Linked DNA regions of Homo sapiens: regions 2, 3, 4, 5, 6 and 7 are each linked to region 1. The links are contacts of gene promoters, found by promoter capture Hi-C in blood cells and fetal thymus (Javierre and others, 2016). All regions are on one chromosome and are shown on one strand. The core of a region is centred on a gene start or on the middle of the fragment in contact, and the rest is flanking DNA. Distances in the headings are between cores, read along the strand shown.

Evidence for each region. The method cuts DNA at HindIII sites, captures the fragments that hold promoters and counts their contacts. A CHiCAGO score of 5 or more calls a contact.
Region 2: a contact is called between a fragment that was not itself captured here and the fragment with the promoter of SSRP1 in region 1, in 4 of 17 cell types (M1 macrophages, endothelial precursors, M0 macrophages and 1 more). The highest score is 8.8, in M1 macrophages.
Region 3: a contact is called between a fragment that was not itself captured here and the fragment with the promoter of SSRP1 in region 1, in 1 of 17 cell types (M2 macrophages). The highest score is 5.1, in M2 macrophages.
Region 4: a fragment that was not itself captured here is called in contact with the fragment with the promoter of SSRP1 in region 1 in 11 of 17 cell types (total CD8 T cells, fetal thymus, activated CD4 T cells and 8 more); the score reaches 11.2 in total CD8 T cells.
Region 5: a contact is called between a fragment that was not itself captured here and the fragment with the promoter of SSRP1 in region 1, in 2 of 17 cell types (activated CD4 T cells and non-activated CD4 T cells). The highest score is 5.4, in activated CD4 T cells.
Region 6: a contact is called between the fragment with the promoter of BTBD18 here and the fragment with the promoter of SSRP1 in region 1, in 15 of 17 cell types (activated CD4 T cells, naive CD4 T cells, total CD8 T cells and 12 more). The highest score is 18.9, in activated CD4 T cells.
Region 7: a fragment that was not itself captured here is called in contact with the fragment with the promoter of SSRP1 in region 1 in 11 of 17 cell types (non-activated CD4 T cells, fetal thymus, total CD8 T cells and 8 more); the score reaches 9.5 in non-activated CD4 T cells.

The regions. Positions count from the first base shown.
Region 1 is chr11:57,333,889-57,337,573 of GRCh38, forward strand. SSRP1 (structure specific recognition protein 1) reads right to left here and starts at 2,004. Exons shown (of 17, transcript NM_003146.3): 1 at 1,842-2,004; 2 at 1,180-1,352; 3 at 575-760. The coding sequence starts at 1,233. It also overlaps a transcript of P2RX3 not described here. RefSeq lists enhancers at 1,173-1,242, 2,093-2,142 and a silencer at 1,743-1,922. The HindIII fragment of the contact is 4,158 bases long and covers 1,942-3,685 here.
Region 2 is chr11:56,842,696-56,846,380 of GRCh38, forward strand. No RefSeq gene overlaps it. Among named protein-coding and RNA genes, the nearest start is that of LINC02735, 3.9 kb to the right of the region's middle. The HindIII fragment of the contact is 4,094 bases long and covers 1-3,685 here.
Region 3 is chr11:57,821,070-57,824,754 of GRCh38, forward strand. No RefSeq gene overlaps it. Among named protein-coding and RNA genes, the nearest start is that of CTNND1, 61 kb to the left of the region's middle. The HindIII fragment of the contact is 771 bases long and covers 1,678-2,448 here.
Region 4 is chr11:57,803,611-57,807,295 of GRCh38, forward strand. It overlaps CTNND1 (catenin delta 1), which reads left to right. Exons shown (of 21, transcript NM_001085458.2): 8 at 11-194; 9 at 1,053-1,170; 10 at 2,272-2,425; 11 at 2,851-2,868; 12 at 3,305-3,373. It overlaps TMX2-CTNND1 (TMX2-CTNND1 readthrough (NMD candidate)), which reads left to right. Exons shown (of 21, transcript NR_037646.1): 9 at 11-194; 10 at 1,053-1,170; 11 at 2,272-2,425; 12 at 2,851-2,868; 13 at 3,305-3,373. Among named protein-coding and RNA genes, the nearest start is that of CTNND1, 44 kb to the left of the region's middle. The HindIII fragment of the contact is 1,237 bases long and covers 1,033-2,269 here.
Region 5 is chr11:57,785,720-57,789,404 of GRCh38, forward strand. It overlaps CTNND1 (catenin delta 1), which reads left to right. Exons shown (of 21, transcript NM_001085458.2): 2 at 3,318-3,436. It overlaps TMX2-CTNND1 (TMX2-CTNND1 readthrough (NMD candidate)), which reads left to right. Exons shown (of 21, transcript NR_037646.1): 3 at 3,318-3,436. Among named protein-coding and RNA genes, the nearest start is that of CTNND1, 26 kb to the left of the region's middle. RefSeq lists an enhancer at 2,824-3,003. The HindIII fragment of the contact is 4,789 bases long and covers 1-3,685 here.
Region 6 is chr11:57,749,978-57,753,662 of GRCh38, forward strand. BTBD18 (BTB domain containing 18) reads right to left here and starts at 1,842. Exons shown (of 3, transcript NM_001145101.3): 1 at 1,564-1,842; 2 at 1,088-1,259. The coding sequence starts at 1,211. The region is part of intron 2 of TMX2-CTNND1 (TMX2-CTNND1 readthrough (NMD candidate)); the gene reads left to right. The HindIII fragment of the contact is 11,151 bases long and covers 1-2,624 here.
Region 7 is chr11:57,715,173-57,718,857 of GRCh38, forward strand. The region is part of intron 1 of TMX2 (thioredoxin related transmembrane protein 2); the gene reads left to right. The region is part of intron 1 of TMX2-CTNND1 (TMX2-CTNND1 readthrough (NMD candidate)); the gene reads left to right. It also overlaps the pseudogene PPIAP42. Among named protein-coding and RNA genes, the nearest start is that of TMX2, 4.4 kb to the left of the region's middle. RefSeq lists an enhancer at 381-891. The HindIII fragment of the contact is 5,340 bases long and covers 1-3,685 here.

The DNA.
Region 1 (3,685 bases), core at 754-3,253:
CGCCTGTAATCTCAACCCTTTGGGAGGCCAAGGTGGGCGATCCCTTGAGTCTGAGAGCTCAAGACCAGACTGGGTAATGTGGCAAAACGCCGTTTCTACCAAAAATTATTAAAAATCAGCTGGGCATGGTGGCATGTGCCTGTGGTACCAGATACTCAGGAGGCTGAGATGGAAGGATTACTTGAGCCCAGGAGGCGGAGGCTGCAGTAATCCGAGATTGCGCCACTGCACTCCAGCCTGGGTGACAGAGCAAGGCCCTGTCCCCAAAAAAAACCAAAAACACACATACACACAAAGAAATCAAGCTAAGATTCTGAACCTTGATAAAAGCCACAGGCAGAAACTACTATCTAAATCAAGACAGAAGAAAATCTTCTGGAGTCAAGGCACACAGAAATTCACAAGACTTCAACGCTCAAAGCCAAACACTGATTGCCTGATGGCCTCACAGCCCTGCTCTAAGGAGCCCAAACTAGCAATCACAGGGTTACATGAGGAAGGAACCTCGAGTCTCTAGAAGATTAAAATAAGAAGATGCAGTAAAAAGGAGGCTTATAGCCATGGGACATCTCACCGATTCTCGGAAGCCATCATACTTGTAGACATGGCCATTCTTTGTAAGCAGTTTAAGTCCATGGCCCAGAGCAACACGGCGCCAGATACCTTCTGTTAACTCCCCAGCCTGGATGTTGTCCACTTTGCCTGTCTTGCTATTCTTGAAGATGATGCCCTGACGGCTCAACCTCAGTCGACCATCATTCTGTAAGAAAAGCAGGCCCAGATGCATGGAGACAGTACACAGCATGTCCTGGGTTCTACAGCTCTACCTAACACACATTCCTGCTGCAAGTGGACTGGCCAGATTATCAATGCAGGAGCAACAGCTGAGGGTGCCAAGGAGTCTAGATTCTAAACCAGACTCTGGTATCTAGAACCCTTAACAGATTCTCAGTTTCCTCATTTGTAAAACAGGAATTGGGAACTGAACAGCATATACGGTCCCTATAACTCTGAGACTATCTCTCAGTATTGCCTTGAGTTGGTGGAGACACTAGGTACACATTATACTGAGTCTTCTTTTTCCAAAATAACGTTACCAAAGCAAGCTCTCATTAATGGACAAAAACTCTACCCTCCTTCCTTCTCTCTACTTGTATCACCTGTCCAAGCCATTCTCACCATGGAACCTTTCACCTCCTGATAGACGTCGTTGAACTCCAGTGTCTCTGCCATGTCGACCCCTGCCTGTGGTGGCCTGGGCAGAGCCCCAGGCTGCACAAGGGAAACCAAGTAAACTGGGAGCTGGGCCCCAACTCCTGAGTGGGTGTGCGGATGCTCAGCAGGTTGGGAATCTGAATTCAAGAGGAAGACAGATAAGCATGAAAGACAGCACCTCGCTGTGCTCACGGATGGAGCCAGGTAGCAACTCCCAGCTGCGCCTGGATGTCTCAGGATTTCCTCTGCCTGGAAACCTACAGACGGACGCTGCAGTGCCCGAGGGTCCAGGTCCAGGCCTGGGTGGAGAACCGGGCCCGGAATACCGCTGACACCCAACCCGACGCCCGCTCTGGCCGCTCCGGCGGGAGCCATGGCAACGAGCAGCGGAACCCCAGGGTCTGCCAGGAGCCCGCACATCGCACGCGACCCAATCCAGCTCAGAGTGCAGGGTTTCCCTCGCACCGCTCCCACCACCCCGCGGCCCCAGACCCACGGTTCACCCCCGCCCCACATAATGGATTCGCCCGCTCCCCGCGGTTGCGAACGCGGAATGGTCCATGTCGAGGGTCCCGTGGGGGAGCGGGGCCCCTGCCTTCCTGGGACCGGGGACGACCACCACCTACCTCCTCAGGCTGCGGCCTCGCGAGGGCCCCGGCGCGAGAGGTGGGCGCGCTGGGGGGACGCGGGGGGGGCGCGGGGAGGGGGATGGGGGGACACCGGGGAAGCTTTTCCCGCGTGCGCGGCCCCGCGTCCCGCCACCGGAAGCCGTACACAGGCCACAGAGAGGATGAGCTGGCTAGAGAGACGCGAGTCGGGCCCGCCTGCGAGACAGTCGCATAGAGCGTCAGCGACTCTGGAGGACCTGAGGGAAGGGTGGTTGCCGTGAAGCCTCTCTCACCCAGGGGGAATCCGGCCTAGAAAATGTGTGTAGGGCTCTTTAGAAACTACAGACACTTCTTCAGTCGAGACTAGATACTAAAGAGAAATTGTGTAGTTTTATTGTATCAGACTTAGTACAGGGGTGGGGTGGGGGTGTGTATTGGAATGATGCGTGCCCGTTTCTCTGCAAAATAGTTTCTATGTCATGGAAAGGAGTCGATGGGACAAGAAGAGAAGTATTTGAACAGTTGTGGGAGGAAACGACCTCTCCCACTGGCTGCGGAGAGTATGCGGGTGTTGGTGTCATCGTGGGTGCACTGCTTTCTGGCTGAACTGTCAAGTTCACTGTCTACACCCAAAATTTTCACATCCTTAACCGAAAATTATAGGTACCTCCAAGAGGCTGGCAAACGGCCTTATCCAGTTCAAGTCCTGGTGTCAGATTCACCTTGGAGCCAGAACTGATTTGAAACCACATCATCCTGTGGTTGCGGAAGCCAGGTCTCCCCCGTATAATCCCAGAGTGCATTTTGCAACATCAGAGACCAGACCTGGAAAAGATGTTTTAGTTTTTCTACCCCAACCTCCTTTTACTGATGGGAAAACTGAGACCCAAAGGGGAGTGAGTTGCCCAGGGTCTCAGTGCGTTGGCAACAAGGCTAGGTAGGACCCAGACCTCCTTAACACCACCAGTCCAGTTATCTTCTGTCATAATCACAGTGACTGTATGTTCAGAATGACTATTGATATGTGTCCTACATGAAGACATTAGTACAGAATATGTAAGCTCAAGATTTCCCTGACAATCAATACACCAGCTTGCTAAATCAATCCTGGGGTAAGAGACAACAGGAATGCACCCTTCTCCCCTGAACTCATAGCTTTAACCTCTGAGTAGTGGCTATTCCAGCATTATCTAGCAAAATAAATTCAACTGGGTTTAATAAATAGATATTGAGGGCCTATTACTACTTTAGCACACTTCTCAGATTTGAGGAAACTTGAACAAGGTGAAAACATCCCCGGCCAGGCACGGTGGCTCACACCTGTAATCCTAGCACTTGGGGAGGCCAAGGCAGGGAGATCACTTGAGGTCAGGAGTTTGAGACCAGACTGGCCAACGTGGTGAAGCCCCGTCTCTATTAAAAATACAAAAATTAGCCAGGCGTGGTGGCGGGTGCCTATAATCCCAGCTACTCAGGAGGCTGAGGCATGAGAATTGCTTGAACCCAGGAGGCAGAGGTTGCAGTGAGCTGAGATTGTGCCACTGCACTCCAGCCCGGGTGACAGAGCGAGACTCTGTCAAAAAAAAAAAAAAAAAGAAAGAAAGAAAAAGAAAAAAAAAAGGAAGGGAAGGAAAGAAAGAAAAAAAAAAAAAACAGAAAAAAAAACCCAGCCCCAACCTTTCAGGAAAACATAATCTAACAAATGACTTTAATAAATAAAGTGACAGTTAAAAAAAAAAGAAGTTGGCACATATACACCGTGGAATACTATGCAGCTGTAAAACAGGATGAGTTCATGTCCTTTGCAGGGACATGGATGAAGCTGGACTCCATCATTCTGAGCAAATTATCACAAGGACAGA
Region 2 (3,685 bases), core at 572-3,071, 490 kb before region 1:
AAGAATACCAAGTCAATGGGGTAAGTATATTCCAGGAGGAACCAAATATGCTGTAATATTGTTTTAGGCCAAATACAATGACAACTGAAAATGTCACTCTTTTTTTTTCCCAGTTCAAATGTGACTTGTTAATCTTTCATGTACAATTCCTTCCTTCCATTTGCCAAGACAGTGAAAGGTGACTGATCTCACTGATTTCACACAAAGCACTTCTTTCTAGTTAAGTGTATCTGGTTGAATGATGTATTCATGGTCACATGAAATATTCAACTGACAGAGACACCAGAGATTATGGAATTCAACCTTTTATTTTGCAAATAAGGAAATGAAAATTTCACACAAGCAACCTGACTCATGGTCATGCAGCTATTTGGTGGCAGAGCTTTAGACTGACTATCATGCCATGGTGGCCACCTGTGCCATGCTAAAAATAACCTCAATAAAAATAATAATGAGATTTCACTTAGGGTAGAATTGACCCCAACTTAAACTAGATGAATATTCACTGACATTTCCGGGTTCCAAAGTGGATTTATGGTCAAAAGAATCTATGTGTCTCCATTTGAAGTTTCTCTGAAAGTCCCTGGTGCCCCCACTAAAAACATATGCAAACACTTGAGTTACCTAGAGTCTGTCAACATGTGACATGCCACGATTAAAATAGCATTACTTTAGCTTAAGGTTTTATCCATTGTTACATTTGGAATACAACTACACCTGTGAGATAATGTTGCCAGTCGGTCAACACTTGAATAACTCTTCAAAGTAAAAGAACTTCTTTATCTATAAAGAGCTAGTTGTTAATTCATTGACTTCTTTGATAATGCATTTAAAGAGTTCCTGCTCTTATAAGACAGGGCTAAGAATTAGAAATGAGTAAGACGGGACTTCTGTTTTCACAGATTTCACAGTCTATCAGGTGAGAGAATGATTTAATAGGATGTGATGCGTCATAGCAGTTTTGTAAAAACACAGTCTTGTAGCTGCAGAGGGCTGGAAACTAATTTTATTTAATGAAAATGGGGTAGAAAAGAATTAGGGAAGTCTCTTAGAGCAATCCACAGAAGGCATTGATGGGAGGATATTAGAAAAATTATGAGGGTATTCTATATCTAAGGGGAATGAGGAGAAGACAGTGAGAAAGAGGAGAATCAAAAGCCAGATATCTGGCTTACTTAAAGCCTGACTTTCTCAATTGCCATTTGATCAAGTCCAGCTAGACCTAAGACAATTTAGATGAGTTGAAAAAAATATATAGACCTTTTACTGTATCACATTCCAGAGTGAACACAAAACTAACATGATGCATCAATACACAGGGCTGAACAACTGAAACGACTCATGAGACTCCACAGAGTACAGTCTTAATAAAGTAAAGGATACTCTAAAGTAGGTGGGGGGAAAGCACAGAAAACCTCAGAAAAGTCCAAGACCTTCAGACCCAGCTTCCAGGATCATTTCTCAATTGATTAGGATGCGATTTTAATCTGAATCATGAACTACTAAGATATATACAAGAAAACTTGAGCTCTGGAGAATCACAGTCTTGTCCAAGGAGTGGTCTTTCATATCTGTCTGGTCTCATAACCAAAACTGGGCTGCATGACAAAAGCGAACAGAAGAAACAAAGAGAACATAGTAGAAACTAGGTAAAAAACACCAATCTGGAATTTTTTGTTGTTTTTTTAATGAACAAAGCTAATAAACTACTACAGATCTCTCACTTGGCCTGTCTCAGGTCCTAGCACAGGAATATTTGTCACCAGTTAGTTGAGCTTATTCTGATTTGGCTAAGGTTCCAGCAGTGTCTCCAGGAATCTCTGGAAATAAGTCAGTCCTCCCTCCAGACAACAATGGCTCCAAGCATCCCTGGAAATAAACATAGGATTGCAGTAGACCAGCTAAGATTAATCTTGTATTTATGTATATAACAGCGCTTCCTCAAACCAGAAGAAGACAATTAAGAATTAAACAGTTAAAACAAAGACAGAAACAGTATATTTGGCTCCATTTCCACTCTTCATCCCTACCTTCCCCCGCATTCAAATATTTCCCTTTCAGCCTTTATCGGGACTCAGAATGTGTCTGAAATCTTCTTGAACTCCAGCTTCAATTGAGACTGATTCCTGCTCTTTCTCCTGGAGCCAGAGTTAGTTGTGAGAATCACCAATACCCAACTCATGGCTGACTACTCTTATGTCTGTTGCTGGAGTTAGTGAGTTCTCTCTCCAGCCTCAATAACTGTGCTGCTCCCAGGTGCAAACGGGATGTAACTGTTTCTGTCCCTGCTACAGATGAAACCTTTTGAGAGGTGACAGCATGCTGGCAGCCCTCACAGCCCTCACTCGCTCTCAGCGCCTCCTCAGCCTCGGTGTCTGCTCTGGCCATGCTCTAGGAGCCCTTCAGCCCGCCACTGCGCTGTGGGGGCCCCTCTCTGGGCTGGCCGAGGCCAGAGCCAGCTCCCTCTGCTTAAGGGGAGGTGTGGAGGGGGAGGTGTGGAGGGAGAGGCGCGGGCGGGAACCCAGGCTGCGTGCAGCAATCGTGGGCCAGCACGAGTTCTGGGTGGGCGTGGGCTTGGCGGCCCCGCACTTGGAGAAGCCAGCCATCTCCGCCAGCCCCCGGCAGTGAGGGGCTTAGCACCTGGGCCAGCAGCTGCGGAGGGTGCTCTGGGTCCCCCAGCAATGCCAGCCTGCCAGCACTGTGCTCCAATTCTTGCTGGGCCTCAGCTGCCTCCTTGCAGGGCAGGGCTCGGGACCTGCAGCCCGCCAGGCCAGAGCCTCCCCTGCAGTGGGCTCCTGCCGGGCCGAGCCTCCCCGATGAGCACCGCCCCCTGCTCTAAGGCACCCACTCCCATGACTGCCCAAGGGCTGACTAGTGCTGGCACATGGCGCTGGACTGGCAGGCAGCTCCACCTGCAGCCCCCTGTGGGATCCACTAGGTAAAGCCAGCTGGGCTCCTGAGTCTAGTGGGGACTTGGAGAACCTTTATGTAAGACTAGGGGATTGTGAATGCATCAATCAGCACTCTGTGTCTAGCTCAAGGTTTGTAAATGCACCAATCAATGTTCTGTGTCTGGCTAATCTAGTGGGGACTTGGAGAACCTTTATGTCTAGCTGAGGGATTGTAAATACACCAATCAGCACTCTGTGTGCAGCTCAAGATTTATAAACACACCAATCAGCACCCTGTGTCTAGCTCAAGGTTTGTAAATGCACCAATCAGTGCTCTGTGTCTAGCTAATCTAGTGGGGACTTGGAGAACTTTTGTGTCTAGCTCAGGGATTGTAAATGCACCAATCAGTGCCCTGCCAAAATGGACCAATCAGCTCTCTGTAAAATGGACCAATCAGCAGGATGTGGGTGGGGCCAGATAAGGGAGTAAAAGCAGGCTGCCAGAGCCAGCAGTGGCAACCCACTGCCGCTGGGTCCCCTTCCCCACTGTGGAAGATTTGTTCTTTTGCTCTTTGCAATAAATTTGCTGCTGCTCACTCTTAGGGTCCACGCCACCTTTATGAGCTGTAACACTCACCGGGAAGGTCTGCAGCTTCACTTGTGAAGCCAGCGAGACCACGAACCCACCAGGAGGGACGAACAACTCCCGAAACGCGCCTTTAAGAGCTGTAACACTCACCGCAAAGGTCTGCAGCTTCACTCCTGAAGCCAGTGAGACCACGAACCCACCAGAA
Region 3 (3,685 bases), core at 813-3,312, 490 kb after region 1:
GCTCAGGTTGCTGAGGCAGGAAGCTAGCCCTTAATTTGGGGTCCTGTAGGTCACAGAGAATCCCCTGGAATTGCCGACTTTGACTTAAGTGTCACTTCTAGCTACAAAGGGTATCTCAACTGGCGAGCAAGTGGCCCCATTGGCTAAAGCCAAGGAGACCACATCTGGAAACTTAAATCACTCTGGTAGCTTCCAGAAAGAGCTACCTCAGGAAAGCTCAAAAAAGAAACAAGATAATTGTTAGGAACAATTTTTTTTCACACAGCTTTAAGACTGTTCTGTTGCCTGTGTCACTTAAAGCATTAGTTCTTCAACTGATCCATCCAGGATTTAGAGACAGACATGGATGAAGAGAAAGCTGGAGGAGGTAAGATAGGTTGATTGGTCTGCATCATTTTAACCTGACATTTTTCTCCTTTTATGCAGTGTAAAATGACCATGGATAGCTATCCATGAATGGACTAAGAGCTTTACACTTGTTATAATTGTAGGAGCTATAAGCATGTGGCAACTAGCTTTAAAATTTTTTTTTACCTGAGAAAAAGTGCTATACTTATCTCCATATACTACTTTATTTTTTAAAAAAGACAGGTTATTCCACTTTTATTGAGGACACAAAAGTATTACTACCCTGCTGTCTTTTCCCCCAGTATCTCTAGTGCTAATGGACAGTGCCATAAGACATTTATGCCTGAGGAAAAAGAAATATGGGATATTTGTGGTGATGTTCCAGTCAATTACCCAATTTTTGTCTTCACCTCAATTCTTTTTTTTTTTTTTTTTGAGGTGAAGTTTCGCTCTTGTTGCCCAGGCTGGAGTGCAATGGCATAATCTTGGCTCACTGCAACCTCCGCCTCTTAGGTTCAAGCAATTCTCCTGCCTCAGCCTCTGGAGTAGCTGGGATTACAGGCATGCGCCACCACGCCTGGCTAATTTTGTATTTGTAGTAGAGACGGGGTTTCTTCAGGTTGGTCAGGTTGGTCTTGAACTCCCAACCTCAGGTGATCTGCCTGCCTCGGCCTCCCAAAGTGTAGTGATTACAGGCGTGAGCCACCATGCCTGGCTCACCTCAATTCTTCTTTTCCTTCCACCTTAAAGGCAGGCTTAGCTTTGGTCTTACAGTTCACGCGTTGGCAGAATCGGGGCAGGGGGAGTGCGTTGGTGTGCGTATTTGAAACTAATTCAGGGCTCTGTTTTTGGCAGTATGCTGGATTAGATAATTCTGAAAAGTCCTTTCAGCAGAAGCAACCAAGATACTGGGTAAATATATTTATAAAAAATACTTTTAAACATATTGCTGAGCAGGCACGAAAGTAAGGAACCTACGGCTCTTCAAAATGAAGCAAAAGCTGGAATCCTAGGAAGTAACTGCCAAAGCCAGCTTTTCCTCAGAATTTTTGCCAAATTCAGCAGACCATAACCTTCTATTTTAGTGATTACACAAAGTATGGGCAACAGGAAATGAGAAATCTAGTAGGTTCCCTCATAAAGCTGGACACCCTCAGTGTAAAGGTGAACAAGAAATAAACACTCCATAGAAGGGCGCAGCAAGGAACTCATTTGTCTCAACCTTAGTGGCACATGGAAACTATAGAATATTTTCCCTGATGATTTATAACCACAAATGGCCTTCTATGGGCTTTCAGTCCAAACTTAGGCTACCTGTGTGGTCCAAAAAGCTTAACTGGGGAATTTAAAGTGGTACTCATTTGTTTATGCTTCCAGGTGATTTTCAGAAGCAAATGCAATTCCTCTAAGGCCTCAGAACAATTCCCATAGATATACTTTCAAGGCAAATGAGTGCTCTTGCCCAAAAATTATAAACTGAACAAAGAAATAAGGCACAATGAGTGAAAAGACAGACACAGAAGCTGATCTTTTAAATACTTCAGATGTTGGCATTGTTGCACAGACTATAATGAAATAACGATTAATGAACTTTTTGAATTAGTGGAAAAACCTTTTTGAATTAGAAGTGAAAAATACAAATTTGAGGTAAGAAGTCAATGCATGGATTAAATAGATTAGACAAATTGAAGGAGGATTTGTGAATTGGAAGATAAGAAATTATACAGAATGCACTCCAGATAGAGAATGGAAAATAGGCAAGAGGTTGAGACAACAATGGAATAAGATCTAATAAACATTATTTGGAACATCAGGAGATAGGAGGAGGCAATATTCAAAGAGAAATTTTTTAGGGTTGGATGAAAGGCACCAAACCTCAGACTTAGGGAGCCCAGTGAATCTCAAGCAAGATAAACCAACTTACCTAGTACATCAGGGTGAGATGCAGAAAACCAAAGAAAAGATTGTGGGCATCTGGAGAGAAAATACAGACTACCTGTAGAAAACCAGCCAGATGGTGACTTCTGTGTCAACAATGAAAGCCAGGAAACAGTGAAATTTATCTTCATCATGTTAAGAGAAAAAGGAACTTATTATGAAAGCTTACCTGAGGTGACACTTTTTAAAAAGCTACTAAAAACATTTTCCGACAAAAGCAGAGTTTCCACTTACAAAAGGATGTCCTTGAGGTGGAAGGAAAATGATCTCAGATGGAGAATCAGATGCAAGAAGGAACACTGAACGAAATTGCTAAAGCCTTCACTGTAAGAGGAGTGTGTAATTTATGGGAGAGAAATACAGACTAGAATTAAAATGCTGGACAACAATAGCATGTAAAGTTGAGGGAGCAATTACAACACTAATTTTCGGGTTCTTCAGGAGGAAAGTAAAGATACTGATAAGACTTGAAAAACTAAATAGATTGGTACAGAAGTAATTGCATTGAAATGGCAAAAACTGCAATGACTTTTGCACCAACCTAATACATATTAGCTGGAATAACCACTAAAGAATGAATATAGGACATATAACTTCCAAACAAGTAGAGAGGGAAGAAAGCAAAAGGAGTATGGGCAAGGTTAGTACTGGTGCTGCATCTGATGGAACAAGCTGAGCCTGCAGGGCAGTGGTGGTAGGTAGTGGTGAAGCCCCCACCTTTATATCACAGCACTGGGTATAGCGTGTGGCAAGTTAAGTAGATGTGTGCAGCAAAGAGCAGAGTGAAGAACAAGAATAGGGACAAAGGGAATAGCTCCAAGACAATTTCTATAAAAGCAAAGTTAAAAATTGGCTGGTAAGTGAGTTGGTCAGCCTGGCTTAAAGACACAGTCAGTACAAATGCTTTCATATTTTGCTGATGAAATTGCAAAGTCTTCTGTAATCCCAGCACTTTGGCAGGCCGAGGTGGGCGGATCACGAGGTCAGGAGATCGAGACCATCCTGGCTAATGCAGTGAAACCCCATCTCTACTAAAAATACAAAAAATTAGCTGGGCGTGGTGGTGGGCGCCTGTAGTCCCAGCTACTCGGGAGGCTGAGGCAGGAGAATGGCGTGAACCCGGGAGGCGGAAGTTGCAGTGAGCCGAGATCATGCCACTGCACTCCAGCGTGGGCGACAGAGCAAGACTCTGTCTCAAAAAAAAAAAAAAAAAAAATTGCAAAGTCTTACTTGTCTGAGTATCCTCCCCATATCCTAAAAGGGTTTGACCCAGAGTAGGGCTGGACTGAAGCTGGAGGCTACCCTTTGACATGAAGATGTTATCATTTTTAGGTACCACTGGCTTTAGAGTAGGAGAGGTCACAGGGAAGCATTGGGCTATTCAAGCTCATCTCTGGGT
Region 4 (3,685 bases), core at 401-2,900, 470 kb after region 1:
TCTCTTCCAGGAACCCTGTGGAATCTTTCATCCCATGACTCAATCAAAATGGAGATTGTGGACCATGCACTGCATGCCTTGACAGATGAAGTGATCATTCCTCATTCTGGTTGGGAGCGGGAACCTAATGAAGACTGTAAGCCACGCCACATTGAGTGGGAATCGGTGCTCACCAACACAGCTGGCTGCCTTAGGTAACAGTAGGGACTTTGAGAATATGAAGATGAATTTTTGAGGACTGACTTAAATTTCCTAAAAAAAAAAAAAAATTAAAATTCTTTAGCCTATTCTTTAGCCTCCATTCCTATCTGTATTGCATACTGTAACTCCAACCTTTCTATCTTTGTTGCTATTCTCTCATGTATACCACATGTACCTATATCAGTTTTCTTGCTGTTCCCCACACATCCTCTTCACTTTTATGCCTCTTTGACTTTGTTCATCTACTTTGGTAAGCTTTTGTTCAGCATCTACCACATGTAAGGTGGTCTAGTCCTGGACTTGTGTGTGTCTATGTCCTTGCCCTAGTTATTTGTATTTCAAGTCAGGCTGTGATAAATTCAGCAAAAGGGGTACAGAGTACTAGGAGGTTAGGGCATGGGTGAGGAAGGTCTGTTCTTTCTGTGATGCCTTTCTCTTCTTATTTATCTTTTTGTGGTTAAACTCAAGTGCCTTTATTTTATTAAAGTTTTCCTGAATTCTTTTTATATCCTATAAATGCTGCTATATAATCTTTCTCTCTTTGGAATACACCTCTGTGTGCTGTGTTCCATTCTACATATGTATTATATACTTCCATACGAGAAGTATATATTCCATCTTGAATTACTGCATCTGGTACATATCATTAATCCCTACCCCACAGTGATATAAACATTCAGAAGGCAGGGACTGTTAATCAACTTTCTCTCAACTGCAGTACCTTGCTTATAATAGGTATTTACTATTACAGTGAGTAGAAAAACATATTCAGGAATCTTGTAGGTGTTGAGGGATATTTAAGGGAGGATTTCTGGATTTGAGTCATCTTGAAGCTTCTGGTTTCCCCTCAGGAATGTAAGCTCAGAGAGGAGTGAAGCTCGCCGGAAACTTCGGGAATGTGATGGTTTAGTTGATGCCCTCATTTTCATTGTTCAGGCTGAGATTGGGCAGAAGGATTCAGACAGCAAGGTAAGTGCTGTCTTACCTTTAATGGCTGAGTGAATTTCATTCACCACAACTATGAAGTATCTGTAGGTCAGAGACCTATCATCTCAGGCTTTCAAGTAACATTAAATATTTATACTGTCCCCTACCCCTTATTTTTGAGACAGAGTCTTGCTCTGTTGCCCAGCCTGGGGTGCAGTGATGTGATCTCAGCTCACTGCAACTTCTGCTTCCTGGGTTCAAGCGATTCTCATGCCTCAGCCTCCCAAGTAGATGGGATTACAGGCGTGTGCCACCACACCCAGCTAATTTTTGTATTTTTAGTAGAGACGGGGTTTCACCATGTTGGCCTGGCTGGTCTCAAACTCTTGACCTCACGTGATCCCCCTGCCTCAGCCTCCCAAAGCATTGGGATTACAGGCGTGAGCCACTGTGCCCAGCCAAGCCCTTACTCCTTAAAGTGGGTATTCAACTTAAAACATGTTTTTTGTTTGTTTGTTTGTTTTTTTGAGATGGAGTCTGGCTCTGTCCCAGGCTGGAGTACAGTCCCGTGATCTCGGCTCATTGCGACCTCTCCCTCCTGGGTTCAAGCAATTCTCTGCCTCATCTCCTGAGTAGCTGGGATTACAGGCACCTGCCACCATGCCCGGCTAATTTTTGTGTTTTAGTAGAGACAGGGTTTCACCAGGTTGGTCAGGCTGGTTTTGAACTCCCGACCTCAGGTGATCCACCCGCCTCGGCCTCCCAAAGTGCTGGGATTACAGGTGTGAGCCACTGTGCCCGGCTTTTTTTTCTTTTTTTTTTAAATCTGTCACCTATGTATTTTAAAGCTGCTTAGCTGTCTTCCAAAATTGTACATTGTCTAAGTAGTAAGAATGATGATCCAATTTCAGTCACACACCAAATAGTGGCAGAAGCCAATAAGTCCATAGTTGGACCTTCCATTAGCCTGAGGCTACCGGGATTTCAAGAAGCCTGGAGCACTTAAGAGGCATCCTGAGAAGTTATGGATTGGGTTATGCATTTGAAGATCAACATTTTAATACCTGAGTCATGGAAACCTGTACTTGTGGAGAAATCACAATAGACATTCTTTTTTCTCATTGGCCCTTTTATGTCCCTAAGCTTGTAGAGAACTGTGTTTGCCTTCTTCGGAACTTATCATATCAAGTTCACCGGGAGATCCCACAGGCAGAGCGTTACCAAGAGGCAGCTCCCAATGTTGCCAACAATACTGGGCCACATGCTGCCAGTTGCTTTGGGGCCAAGAAGGGCAAAGGTGAGTCTTGGTTCCTGTTTCTTAGTCTTTAATGTGGGATAGGGAAAGGAAGGAACACTTTAGCTTAAGGTACAAAATACTTGGCAACAGTATGGGAGTCTGCCTGGTTATGGATGTCTTTTTGGTTTGCTGCTTTCCCTGTGTTGTGTGCTTCATTCAAGGTGTGGTGATGGGATGGTGGTTGTGATGTGTTGGTGGTGGTGGTGGTGGTGGTGGTGGTGGTATCAATGAGTGGGGCAGTGGAAAATGAGAACTCAACTAATCTGGGACCTTCTTCCCCATACGTCCTTTGCATTTTCTGTGTTTTTCTTTTCTTCTCTGTGCTTCCCTGCTTATTTGCCCATGATTCTGCTGACATCTTTCTCCTGCATTTTTCTTATTTCATTTCTCTTCTCTGCTTTCTACCTTGGGTGATGCACTGGAAGATGAGTGGTTCTCCAGAGGTGAGTGGAGTCTTTTAAGGTGCTTATCTACTTCTAATTTGCATGTTTTGATTTTAGCTTCCCTAGTATGTCCTTGCCTAACCTTTCCCTGTCTATGCATGTAGGAAAGTTCAGTTGAGGAAGACACTGAAACAAGTTTAGCTCTTTGGAGCTAATAGCTCACGGCATGCTGTTTCTGGGCAGCAGTCCCCATTATCAGAACTCAGGACAATAGCATCAACAGTGGTCATCCTCATCTTACCTATCTGCTGCCTGTTTTCTATCCTTGTTTCTGAATAGTCCCCTGCTGGAACAAGTTGCCCTCACCTGCCCCTTTTCCCCTCGTGGTGCATCTGTGATCAAAAGGTTCTGACTGAAGGATGAAAAATGTGCCAGGTGGAATCTTTTCTTTTTTAAACTGGCTTACCCCTTTTCCCGCCCTTTTTCATTTTTGTAGGGAAAAAACCTATAGAGGATCCAGCAAACGATACAGTGGATTTCCCTAAAAGAACGAGTCCAGCTCGAGGTAAGTTATCTTCTCAGTCTCCAAAGGTCTCATAAACATAGTACAAAGATAAGATATTTAGTAACCTAACAGCAGACTTTATGTAATACGTTTATTGTCCTCTCTTTTCCAACTTACAGATTTGAAATGATTGTGAAAGTATTGGGAAGCTGCATAGTATTATAGCAGTAACTTAAAAAGGACTGCTTGTTAAGGCAGTTATTCAGGTTACTTGAGGATAGAATAAGGTCCTGATGGTAGTATAGAGCAGAAATTTAGGAACCATAAATGGCCACTGTAGTGCCTGAGACTTAAACCTCACTATTAAAAGAG
Region 5 (3,685 bases), core at 420-2,919, 450 kb after region 1:
TTTATTTTTAGTAGAGACGGGGTTTCACCATGTTGGTCAGGCCGGTCTCAAACCCCTGACCTTGTGATCCGCTCACCTCGGCCTCCCAAAGTGCTGGGATTACAGGCTTGAGCCACCACGCCCGGCCGGTAAGTGATTTTTTTGTTTTTTGGACCTCCTATCTGGTTAGCACTGTCTAGTTGTTTGGTCCTTCTGGGTATTTGATTTAATTTAACTTCTTTTGGTTGGGAGTTCTTACAGACGAGACTGAGTTTTTATCATTATCATTGCTTGGATGAAGGATCTTTACTATGGACTATGGACTCTGGGTAATAGCAGGAATATCTTTCTAGTGTGGGTGGGATCCAGTAATGTAGGACTTAATGGCTTATTGAGAGTAAAACTAGGTATTCTCAGAAAATCTAGTCTTAAGGGGGAATAACAAGTTTCACTTTATGTTTCCTCAACCCCCTGACTTCAGGAATTCTTTGATTTTTTTTTTTTTTTTTTGGTGAGAGGAAATGTAGTCTATTTAAAAATCTAAGTAAGTGGAGGCCGGCTGCCGTGGCTCACGCCTGTAATCCCAGCACTATGGGAGGCTGAGGCAGGCGGATCATGAGGTCAGGAGATCGAGACCATCCTGGCTGACACGGTGAAACCCCGTCTCCACTAAAAATACAAAAAATTAGCCCGGTGTGGTGTCATGCACCTGTAATCCCAGCTATTCGGGAGGCTGAGGCAGGAGAATCGCCTGAACCCAGGAGGTGGAGGTTGCAGTGAGCTGAGATTGCACCACAGCACTCCAGCCTGGGCCACTAAGCGAGACTCCATCTCAAAAAAATAAATAAATAAAAAATGTAAGTGGCAAAGCTGGAAAGGCATTGGGCTGGACTTGTAATTACGACTCCTGACTGTCTGCCAAAGTCAGCTGAAGGTTTGTAGTGTGATCTTTTTGATGCATATGGCATGAGAAGAATCTTTTTTCCTTAAGTCTCCAAGCGATGAGACCATTTACTGTAGCCTGCCTAACAGCTTCATTCTTTCCCCACTCATACATTCCTTTTCCTCCCATTTTTTTTCTGTTTTCTCACTTCTATGTAGATATTATGGGTAACTCTTGAGCCTAAAAAAACAAAGTAGAACCCTTTTCTTTCCCTGTTTTCCTGTGATAGTTGAGAAGAAAGCTCTCAAAGGTTGTAGAGGAGAGGCTCTGGACCATCCATCTGGTACTGACTGCACTTCTATTTGGACTTGACACCATGGCATAGAAAGAGAACACAGGCTTTGGAATGGCATAGACCTGGGTTTAAATTCAAAATTTGCTATTAACTGTGAGACCTTGGGTAGTTTCTTCACCCATGAGTCTTATTTGCAATAAAACTTCCTTAGGGTTGTTGTAAGGATTGCCAAGATAGTAAATGTAAAACATTCAGTAATCATTAGTTTCACATTCCCTTTCTCCAAGGTAATAAATTGTTAAGGCCTCAAATACAGAATCAAGAACTTATTATGACAGATGTGTAATGATGTGATGACTTCCAGGCACTAGAGAAGTGTCCTTTGTCCCAGAAACACTGGTATAGGTGGGACGTTCTAGTAAATAGATTAGGAGTAGGGAAACCAGCCCATTCACTCCTTAGAACCTAGTTATGTTTTTGATCCAGTTGATTTCATCTACTAGTTCACAAAATAGTTTGAGGCTGAGACATTACGGTGAAGTAATGTAATTGGAAGTGTTAAACCAACTTTTGAAACAACTTAATACCTGACATTTGTATATAACATACATTGTCTCACCTAATCCTCACAACAACTCTGAGTTAGACCGGGCTAATTTCCTAACTCCTGGGAAGCAGCAATTTTTTTTCTTTTTCCCCAATTTGGTTCCTGGAAACGGGGCAAATGGATTTGGCATCTTACAAGTGAGAATATGACAGGGTTTACTGCCATTGTTGGGTAGTAGTAGAGCCAGAACTGGGACCAGTCTTCTTGAGTTGTGTTCTATCCCATATGGCCTCTGCTTCTGTCCTTTTTCAGGCAGAATATCTCCCCATGCTTTTAGACCTAGGAATCTGATCTTTTTGTGTAATTGTGCTGTCTTCTTTTCCAAATTAGAGCCAGGTGGTCAGCTTTAAAGCTGTGAAGATGGTGGAAGCTAATGTTTCTCCAGATACTGCTTTCTGACCTAGAGCCCTGAGTATTTTTCCTATCTCCCTTCCTAACCTTCTTCACTGAATTTAAGTTGCAGGGCCATTTATGGCCATCTATACACTTTCTCTTTGCAGCAGGGAATGTCACTGTATCCCCCGTGGTAGCAGTAATTTGGGCTTTTATTAGCAAAGAAGATTATAGGGTGGATGCTGCTGGAGTGGTAATTGCACTTCAGACCCTGTTGAAATTCAGTAACTGGAAGAATCTCTTTTTGAGCTCAGAGTCCTCTTGGTGTGGAAGGTTCATAGGTCATTGTACATAGTGGATAAGGGCAAGTACTTAAGAAATGGAGATGAAAGGGGAGCACCTTTTTTTTTAAAATAAGGGTGCTTATTCAAGAAAGACCTTTGAGTGGCCTGTTGGAATGTAGGGTGGGAATATGAGAAAGTGGCAATGGGTTTTGGACTGAAAGGAAGAAGAGTTGATAGGCGATTATGGGAACTTCGAGCTGGGGTAGGAGGAATTTAGGGAAGGGCAACCACGTTCTTTAAACTTAGGGACTGGATTGATTCAGGAGTTTATTGGACACTTACTTATCAGTTCCTTTGGGTACTCTTGCTTGCTGACTTCTGCATACACTCTAAGCCAAACAGGCCCGGGCATTTGTGCTTGGTGGGGCTCTGGGGAGCGTGGGAAAGGGAACTGAAGCAAAAGGCTCAGCCTAGGCTAGTCCCCACATGTCTTCCCCACACAACTTTTGCATTGGTTTCTCAATGTCTTTGTGGGCATGCTGGGACTGGGCTTTGAGGTTTCTGCCTTAGGGGTGGGAAGGGAGGGGGAAGGGCATTCCAACAGCAGTTTTTTTCTTTTTCCCCAATTTGGTTGCTGGAAACAGGGTAAATGGATTTTTATACATATTATAACCTGTTCCTGGTTATATATGGAAATACAAATAGAGGAGCTCTCACTTGACAGTAGAATCCAGGTTTTAATGAAAATGACATCCAAGGCCTAGGTATCTGAACACAACAAGGTCTAAAGGGCACTTGTCACATTAAGCAATTCCAAGTCATATTTTAAATTACTTCCTTTCATTCCTAATATTGCCCCTTGCTCTTCTTGTTTTTATGTATTGGGTATATTTTATTTTCCTCTCATTCCCATTTTTCCTTCAAATATTTCTGCAGCTCTCTCCTTCCTGCTTCCTCCTTGCTGTGGTGGCTGGGATGCTTCTTCCATGATTTTTTGAATCTAGACTGGGCTGTTCTCTGTGTTAAACCAATCAGTTGCGACCTTCTCTTAACAGGTGTGTATGGAAATATGTTTATTAAGAAGGAAAAATCTTACTTTTTAAGAAATATGTATTTTTATTCCTTTCATGTCATAGCAGAAAAAAATCTTTTTAAATACCTTTTTTCTTTATGGGTTGGTGAGAGGGTGGGAATTGGGGAGAATATTTATTTCAAAACCTGTCTTTCAACATTGTATATTTTGGACTGGCATAAAGTCTTTCATAGCTATAAGAGAGAAAAAAACCCATTGAGTCCAACAGAGT
Region 6 (3,685 bases), core at 592-3,091, 420 kb after region 1:
ACTTTATGCTGAATTAACATTTCCAGTGTGAAGTGAAGGGGTGGAAATAACCTATACATTTTTAGTTCTAGCAACAAACAACAAAAGTCATCAATTTGAAGATTAAATAAATTAAGCAGGCCGGGCAACGTGGCTCACGCCTGTAATCCCAGCACTTTGGGAGGCTGAGGCAGGTGAATCATGAGGTCAGGAGTTCGAGACCAGTCTGGCCAACATAGTGAAACCCCATCTCTACTAAAAATACAAAAAATTTTCCGGGTGTGGTGGCACGCACCTGTAGTCCCAGCTACTCGGGAGGCTGAGGCGGCAGAATCGCTTGAACGCGGGAGGTGGAGGTTGCAGTGAGCTGAGACCGTGCCATTGCACTCCAGCCTGGGAGACAGAGAGAGACTCTGTCTCAAAAACAAAACAACAACAAAAAAGAAAATGGGAAAAGGGTCGGACGTGGTGGCTCACGCCTATAATCCCAGCACTTTGGCAAGCCCAGGCGGGTGGATCACTTGAGGCCAGGAGTTTGAGACCAGCCTGGCCATCATGGCAAAACCTCATCTCTACTAAAAATACAAAAGTTAGCTGGGCGTAGTGGCGCATGCCTGTAATCTCAGCTACTTGAGAAAGCTAAGGCATGAGAATCACTTGAACCCAGGAGGTGGAGGTTGCAGGTAGCTGTGATTGTGCCACCACACTCCTGCCTGGGCAAGAGAGTGAGACTCTCAAAAAGAAAACATAATAGTATCATCTAACACATATTGTGGTTAGTATATTAAAAGCACTATTCTAAGTGCTTACCCACATTAACTCTTAATCTTCACAACCATCCCATTGGAATATTATCCATGTTATATAGAATGTATCTGCTTATAAAACTTTACAATTAGATTCATTATTTAAGAGAAAGAAGCAAAGTCACAATTTCACTCTTGAAAACAGTAGTAATTGTCCTAGAAACAAACAGCCCTTTACCAAATAGTTTACAGTGGTCATAGGCAGTAATATTTTGCTGATTTTGTCCTTTACCCTCTGGCTCTGAACTCATTTTATCTTATTCTATGGTGAGTTTTCAGTTGAATTCCGACCACTCTCTTACCTTCTGCCTGCAGAAGGACATCACAGAACACATCACTCTGCTGCTGGTGATGAAGCTGCAGAAAAGCTAACCTGAGGAACCGGGGGTTCCTGTATAGGATTTTGGGACTGGCAGGAGAGCACATGTTGGCAAGAGTCTTAACAAACCTTCTAGGTTTTCACAGATCAGACTCCTGTAGGTGAGATAATACATTTCAGAGGCATGGTTACATCTAATTTGTTTTTTGTCTTTGAAATGGCAGGGGAATTTTGAAAGTGAGAGATAATAGTATGAGTTGAGGAAACATCAGCCCAGAAATTGTGCCAAGGATATCTCAAGAAAGAAAATTATCATAGTGGTTACATGTGGGAGCTCAGAGATAAGCCTAGGTTTGGGTCTTGGCTCTATTTATTAGCCTGGCTGTATAATCTCACACAGGTGACCTAACTTCTCTGAGTCTCACTTTCCTATCCATGAAATAGAATAATAGTACTTACCTTGTAGGGTTGTTTTAAAGATTAAATGAGTCAGTGAAGGTAAAGTTGCTTAGCACAGTGAGTGCCTGGCACAAAATAACTACCAAGCCCCAAATGGTAACTATTATTATCCTTCAACCTTCCTCATTTCCATTACCACTGAGACTCAACTGCTACAATGCTGACTACTTATATTCTTCCTGAGCACCACATCCCAGCTCCACAGGTATAATCTTCAAGTTAACACTTTTAAGGAAACATTACTGGGTATAAAATTATCTCTAGTAAGTCGTATGCGCCTTTTCTCTGAGCTCACTGTATCACACTAACCAGCAGAGGGTGCACAATAAAGAAGAGAAGCCTCTGACTCTGCGGGAAGGTCTCTCACAGAACCAAGGACGTTGCCACCCTTGGCTGGGTGTACTTGACCAAAGCGAGCCTGACTGACCCTGGTAGTAGGCAAAGAATTTGGCCTTTACGTTTGTATAGTTAATTACCAGGCTAACAATGCAGCAAGGATAGTAAAGCATTTTACCCCTCCCAAAACAAACTGAGTATTCTGACTTCAGGCTTATGTCCAGCTTTTTAGCTCCGAAACCCCCCCACTCACTGCACAGCTGTGTTCCTTTCCTGGAATGCAGTTTTCTATCAGGTAGCACTGAGGGTCCGAACAGTTCACGTCAAAACTATCAGGAAAGAAGAATGAAAAGGTAAATTAAGAGAAGGCGGGCTTGGCTGGGCGGGGTGGCTCACGCCTGTAATCCCAGCACTTTGGGAGGCCGAGGCGGGTGGATCACCTGAGGTTAGGAGTTTGAGACCAGCCTGGCCAACATGGTGACTCCCCGTCTCTACAAAAATACGAAAATTAGCCGGGCATGGTGGCAGGCGCCTGTAATCTCAGCTACTCAGGAGGCTGAGGTGGGAGAATCGCTTGAACCTGGGAGGCAGAGGTTGTAGATAGAGCCACTGCACTCCAGCCTGGGCGACAGAGCGAGACTCCGTCTCAAAAAAAAAAAAAAAATTCCCATCCCAGTGAGAGAGATGTGGATGGAGGATGGCAGCTGTTGCAAGGGCCCTGGGGAAGCTTCTCAATCCACGATCGCCTGGCCTTGCCTCCAGACCCAACTTGAAATAGCTTTTCGGTAGACTTTGCTCCTGTTGCCTTCTCTGTGCTTGTCCTCTGTCCAGCCTGCCTTGCTTCCTCTCAATGTTCAGCGTTGAGTCAGGAGGCTGAGCAAAGATGCGCAGGTGGGCCAACGGCTGAGTGCTTCACCTCCCCATCCAGAAGCAAGGGAATCGGTGTTGGCGGAGAAAGCAGGGCTTCAGGGAGAGCCCTGCAAAGCGGGGTGGCCCGCACGCTTGGGCGCCCTGGCCCAACTCCTTTGAAGAAAGACTCCTAGGCGCGAGGGTTTCTGGGAATGGACCGTGGGGATCCGGGAGGCCCAAAGTCAGGACTTCCCGTCACGGCCACCTCCGCCAGCATAGACTTTGCAGGCAGCCCCTGGCGCCCTTGTATCCCTGCGGGCTTCAGCACCCACATGCACTGGGTGGTAGTGATAGCGAGGGTTGTAAGGCCACGCGGCCAGCGCCACACACCTCGTGCCACCGTCCTAGCGCGCTGCGCGTCGCAGAGCCCTACGCCCCTCCTCCTCCCGAGTCCTCGGGCCTACGTCGTCCGGCATACGTCATCCCCATTGGCCGAAGGCTCCCGGGAGAACCAATCAGAACAGGAGGAGCGCTTTGGGCGGGAGGCTAAGTCTCGAGGGACTTGAGGGCTGAGGGAAGATGGCTGGGCTGCAAGAGGCAGGGGGATGGGCCCGTCAGGGAGGAATTCTTGTGAAAGCCGTCGTCTGCCTCAGCACTTGATGAAAACACACCGAAAAAGAGGGTAGGGATGCTGTAGTAGAGCAGGCGCCAAGGCGGTTAAGGGTCATGTCCGTCTTCCCTTTGAAGAGGCAGTAGATGCCCTTGGCTCTGCCTGGAGCGCTCCATGTTTCGTGATGGAAGTCTCTGGATGGCTCTGGTAACACCGGGTCCCCCATATGGCTAATTTAGAAATCTCCTAAGACCAGAGATGTTATGGAATAAGGTCCTTGGGCAGTTTCTGAATTCAGTTTCTTCACTGATTCCACTCCAACCCCAA
Region 7 (3,685 bases), core at 760-3,259, 380 kb after region 1:
GTGGATTTCCTGAGCTCAGGAGTTCGAGACCAGCCTGGCCAACATGGTGTAACCCCGTCTCTACTAAAAATACAAAAAATTAGCTGGGTGTGGTGGTGGGTGCCTGTAATCCCAGCTACTCTGGAGGCTAAGGCAGGAGAATCACTTGAACCTGAGAGGCAGAGGTTGCAGTGAGCCAGGATCGTGCCATTGCACTCCAGCCTGGGCAACAAGAGCAAAGTTCTGTCTCAAAATAAATAAATAAATAAAATTAAAAAAATATATTTTATATATAATATATATGTATTAATGTGCTTTTAATACTAAAGCTGATTTTAATAAACTTTACAAACAAATCTGTCTAATCTTGATCAGCTTTGACTAGACAAGATAAAATTTCCATAAACCTTTTATAACCTCTTAGAATTTGTTTTCTTTTTTTTTTCTTTTATTGATCATTCTTGGGTGTTTCTCGCAGAGGGGGACTTGGCAGGGTCATAGGACAATAGTGGAGGGAAGGTTGGCAGATAAACAAGTGAACAAAGGTCTCTGGTTTTCCTAGGCAGAGGACCCTGCCGCCTTCCGCAGTGTTTGTGTCCCTGGGTACTTGAGATTAGGGAGTGGTGATGATTCTTAACGAGCATGCTGCCTTCAAGCATCTGTTTAACAAAGCACATCTTGCACCGCCCTTAATCCATTTAACCCTGAGTGGACACAGCACATGTTTCAGAGAGCACAGGGTTGGGGGTAAGGTCACCGATCAACAGGATCCCAAGGCAGAAGAATTTATCTTAGTACAGAACAAAATGAAAAGTTTCCCGTGTCTACTTCTTTCTACACAGACACGGCAACCATCCGATTTTTCAATCTTTTCCCCACCTTTCCCCCCTTTCTATTCCACAAAACCGCCATTGTCATCCCGGCCCGTTCTCAATGAGCTGTTGGGTACACCTCCCAGACGGGGTGGTGGCTGGGCAGAGGGGCTCCTCACTTCCTAGTAGGGGTGGCCGGGCAGAGGCGCCCCTCACCTCCCGGACCGGGCGGCTGGCCGGGCGGGGGGCTGACCCTCCCACCTCCCTCCTGGACGGGGCGGATGGCCGGGCGGGGGGCTGACCCCCCCCCACCTCCCTCCCGGATGTGGGGCTGACCCCCCCACCTCCCTCCCGGACGGGGCGGCTGGCCGGGCGGGGGGCTGACCCCCACACCTCCCTCCCGGACGGGGCGGCTGGCCGGGCGAGGGGCTGACCCCCCCACCTCCCTCCCGGACGGGGCGGCTGGCCGGGCGGGGGGCTGACCCCCCCACCTCCCTCCCGGACGGGGCGGCTGGCCGGGCTGAGGGGCTCCTCACTTCCCAGTAGGGGCGGCCGGGCAGAGGCGCCCCTCACCTCCCGGACGGGGCGGCTGGCCGGGCGGGGGGCTGACCCCACCTCCCTCCCGGACGGGGCGGCTGGCCGGGTGGGGGGCTGACCCCCCCACCTCCCTCCCGGACGGGGCGGCTGGCCGAGCGGGGGGCTGACCCCCCCACCTCCCTCCCGGACGGGGCGGCAGGCCGGGTGGGGGGCTGACTCCCCCACCTCCCTCCCGGACGGGGTGGCTGGCCAGGCAGAGGGGCTCCTCACTTCCCAGTAGGGGCGGCTGGGCAGAGGCGCCCCTCACCTCCCGGACGGGGCGGCTGGCCGGGCGGGGGGCTGACCCCCCCCACCTCCCTCCTGGACGGGGCGGCTGCCGGGCGGAGACGCTCCTCATTTCCCAGACGGGGTTGGTGCCGGGCAGAGGGGCTCCTCACTTCTCAGATGGGGCGGATGCTGGGCGGAGGGTCTCCTCACTTCTCAGACGGGGCGGCTGGGCAGAGACACTCCTCACCTCCCAGACGGGGTCGCGGCCGGGCAGAGGCGCTCCTCACATCCCGGACGGGGCGGCGGGGCAGAGGCGCTCCCCACATCTCAGACGATGGGCGGCCGGGCAGAGACGCTCCTCACTTCCCAGATGGGATGGCTGCTGGGAAGAGGCGCTCCTCACTTCCTAGATGGGATGGCGGCCGGGCAGAGACGCTCCTCACTTTCCAGACTGGGCAGCCAGGCAGAGGGGCTCTTCACGTCCCAGACGATGGGCGGCCAGGCAGAGACGCTCCTCACTTCCCAGACAGGGTGGCGGCCGGGCAGAGGCTGCAATCTCGGCACTTTGGGAGGCCAAGGCAGGCGGCTGGGAGATGGAGGTTGTAGCGAGCTGAGATCACGCCACTGCACTCCAGCCTGGGCACCATTGAGCACTGAGTGAACCAGACTCCGTCTGCAATCCCGGCACCTCGGGAGGCCAAGGCTGGCGGATCACTCGCGGTTAGGAGCTGGAGACCAGCCCGGCCAACACAGCGAAACCCCGTCTCCACCAAAAAAGTACGAAAACCAGTCAGGCGTGGTGGCGCTTGCCTGCAATCGCAGGCACTCGGTGGGCTGAGGCAGGAGAATCAGGCAGGGAGGTTGCAGTGAGCCGAGATGGCAGCAGTACAGTCCAGCTTCGGCTCGGCATCAGAGGGAGACCGTGGAAAGAGAGGGAGAGGGAGACCGAGAGGGAGAGGGGAGAGGGGAGAGGGGAGAGGGGAGAGGGAGAGGCAGAGGCAGAGGCAGAGGCCAGAATTTGTTTTCATTCTTTATTTTCTTTCCCTAGCTTTTTATTGTTGTTGTTATTTAGTTTTTATTTCATAATCATAAACTTAACTGCAATCCAGCTAGGCATGTAAGGGAACAAGGAAAACACGGAACCCAAAGGGAACTGCAGTGAGAGCACAAAGATTCTAGGATACTGCGAGCAAATGGGGTAGAGGGGTGCTCTCCTGAGAGGAGAGCACAGAAGGAATGGTCTGGTGGTGAAGACAAAACAAGTCAAACTTACTAGACTTATCCACAGTCAGCAATGGTGATCTTCTTGCTGGTCTTGCCATTCCTGGACCCAAAGCGCTCCATGGCCTCTGCAATATTCATGCCTTCTTTCACCTTGCCAAAGACCACATGCTTGCCATCCAACCACTCACTCTTGGCAGTGTAGATGAAAAGCTGGGAACCTTTTGTGTTGGGTCCAGCAATTGCCATGGACAAGGTGCCAGGACCTGTATGCTTTAGGATGAAGTTCTCATCATCAAATTTCTCCCCATAGATGGACTTGCCACCAGTGCCATTATGGCGTGTGAAGTCACCACCTGATACATAAACCCTGGAATAATTCTGTGAAAGCAGGAACTCTTACAACCAAATCCTTTTTGTCCAGTGCTCAGAGCACGAAAGTTTTCTGTTGTCTTTGGAACCTTGTCTGCAAACAGCTCGAAGGAGATGCGGCCCAGGGGCTCACCATCCACGGTGATGTCAAAGAACACGGGGTTGACCATGGCTGATAGTACAGGGCTCCTGGTGGTGGCAGCAAAGCCTCTTTGCCCAACTTTTTATATCTGTTTAGTTTTATCTATATCATTGTTTTCCTCCATTCATTTATTCTGAAATAACCCCCCCTCTTTTTTTTTTTTTTTTTTTTGAGATGGAGTCTCACTCTGTTGCCCAGGCTGGAGTTCAGTGGTGTGATCTTGGCTCACTGCAACCTCCGTCTCCTGGGTTCAAGTAATTCTCCTGCCTCAGCCTCCCGAGAAGCTGGGACTACAGGTGCCTGCCACCACGTCTGGCTAAATTTTGTATTTTTAGTAGAGACGGGGTTTCACCAT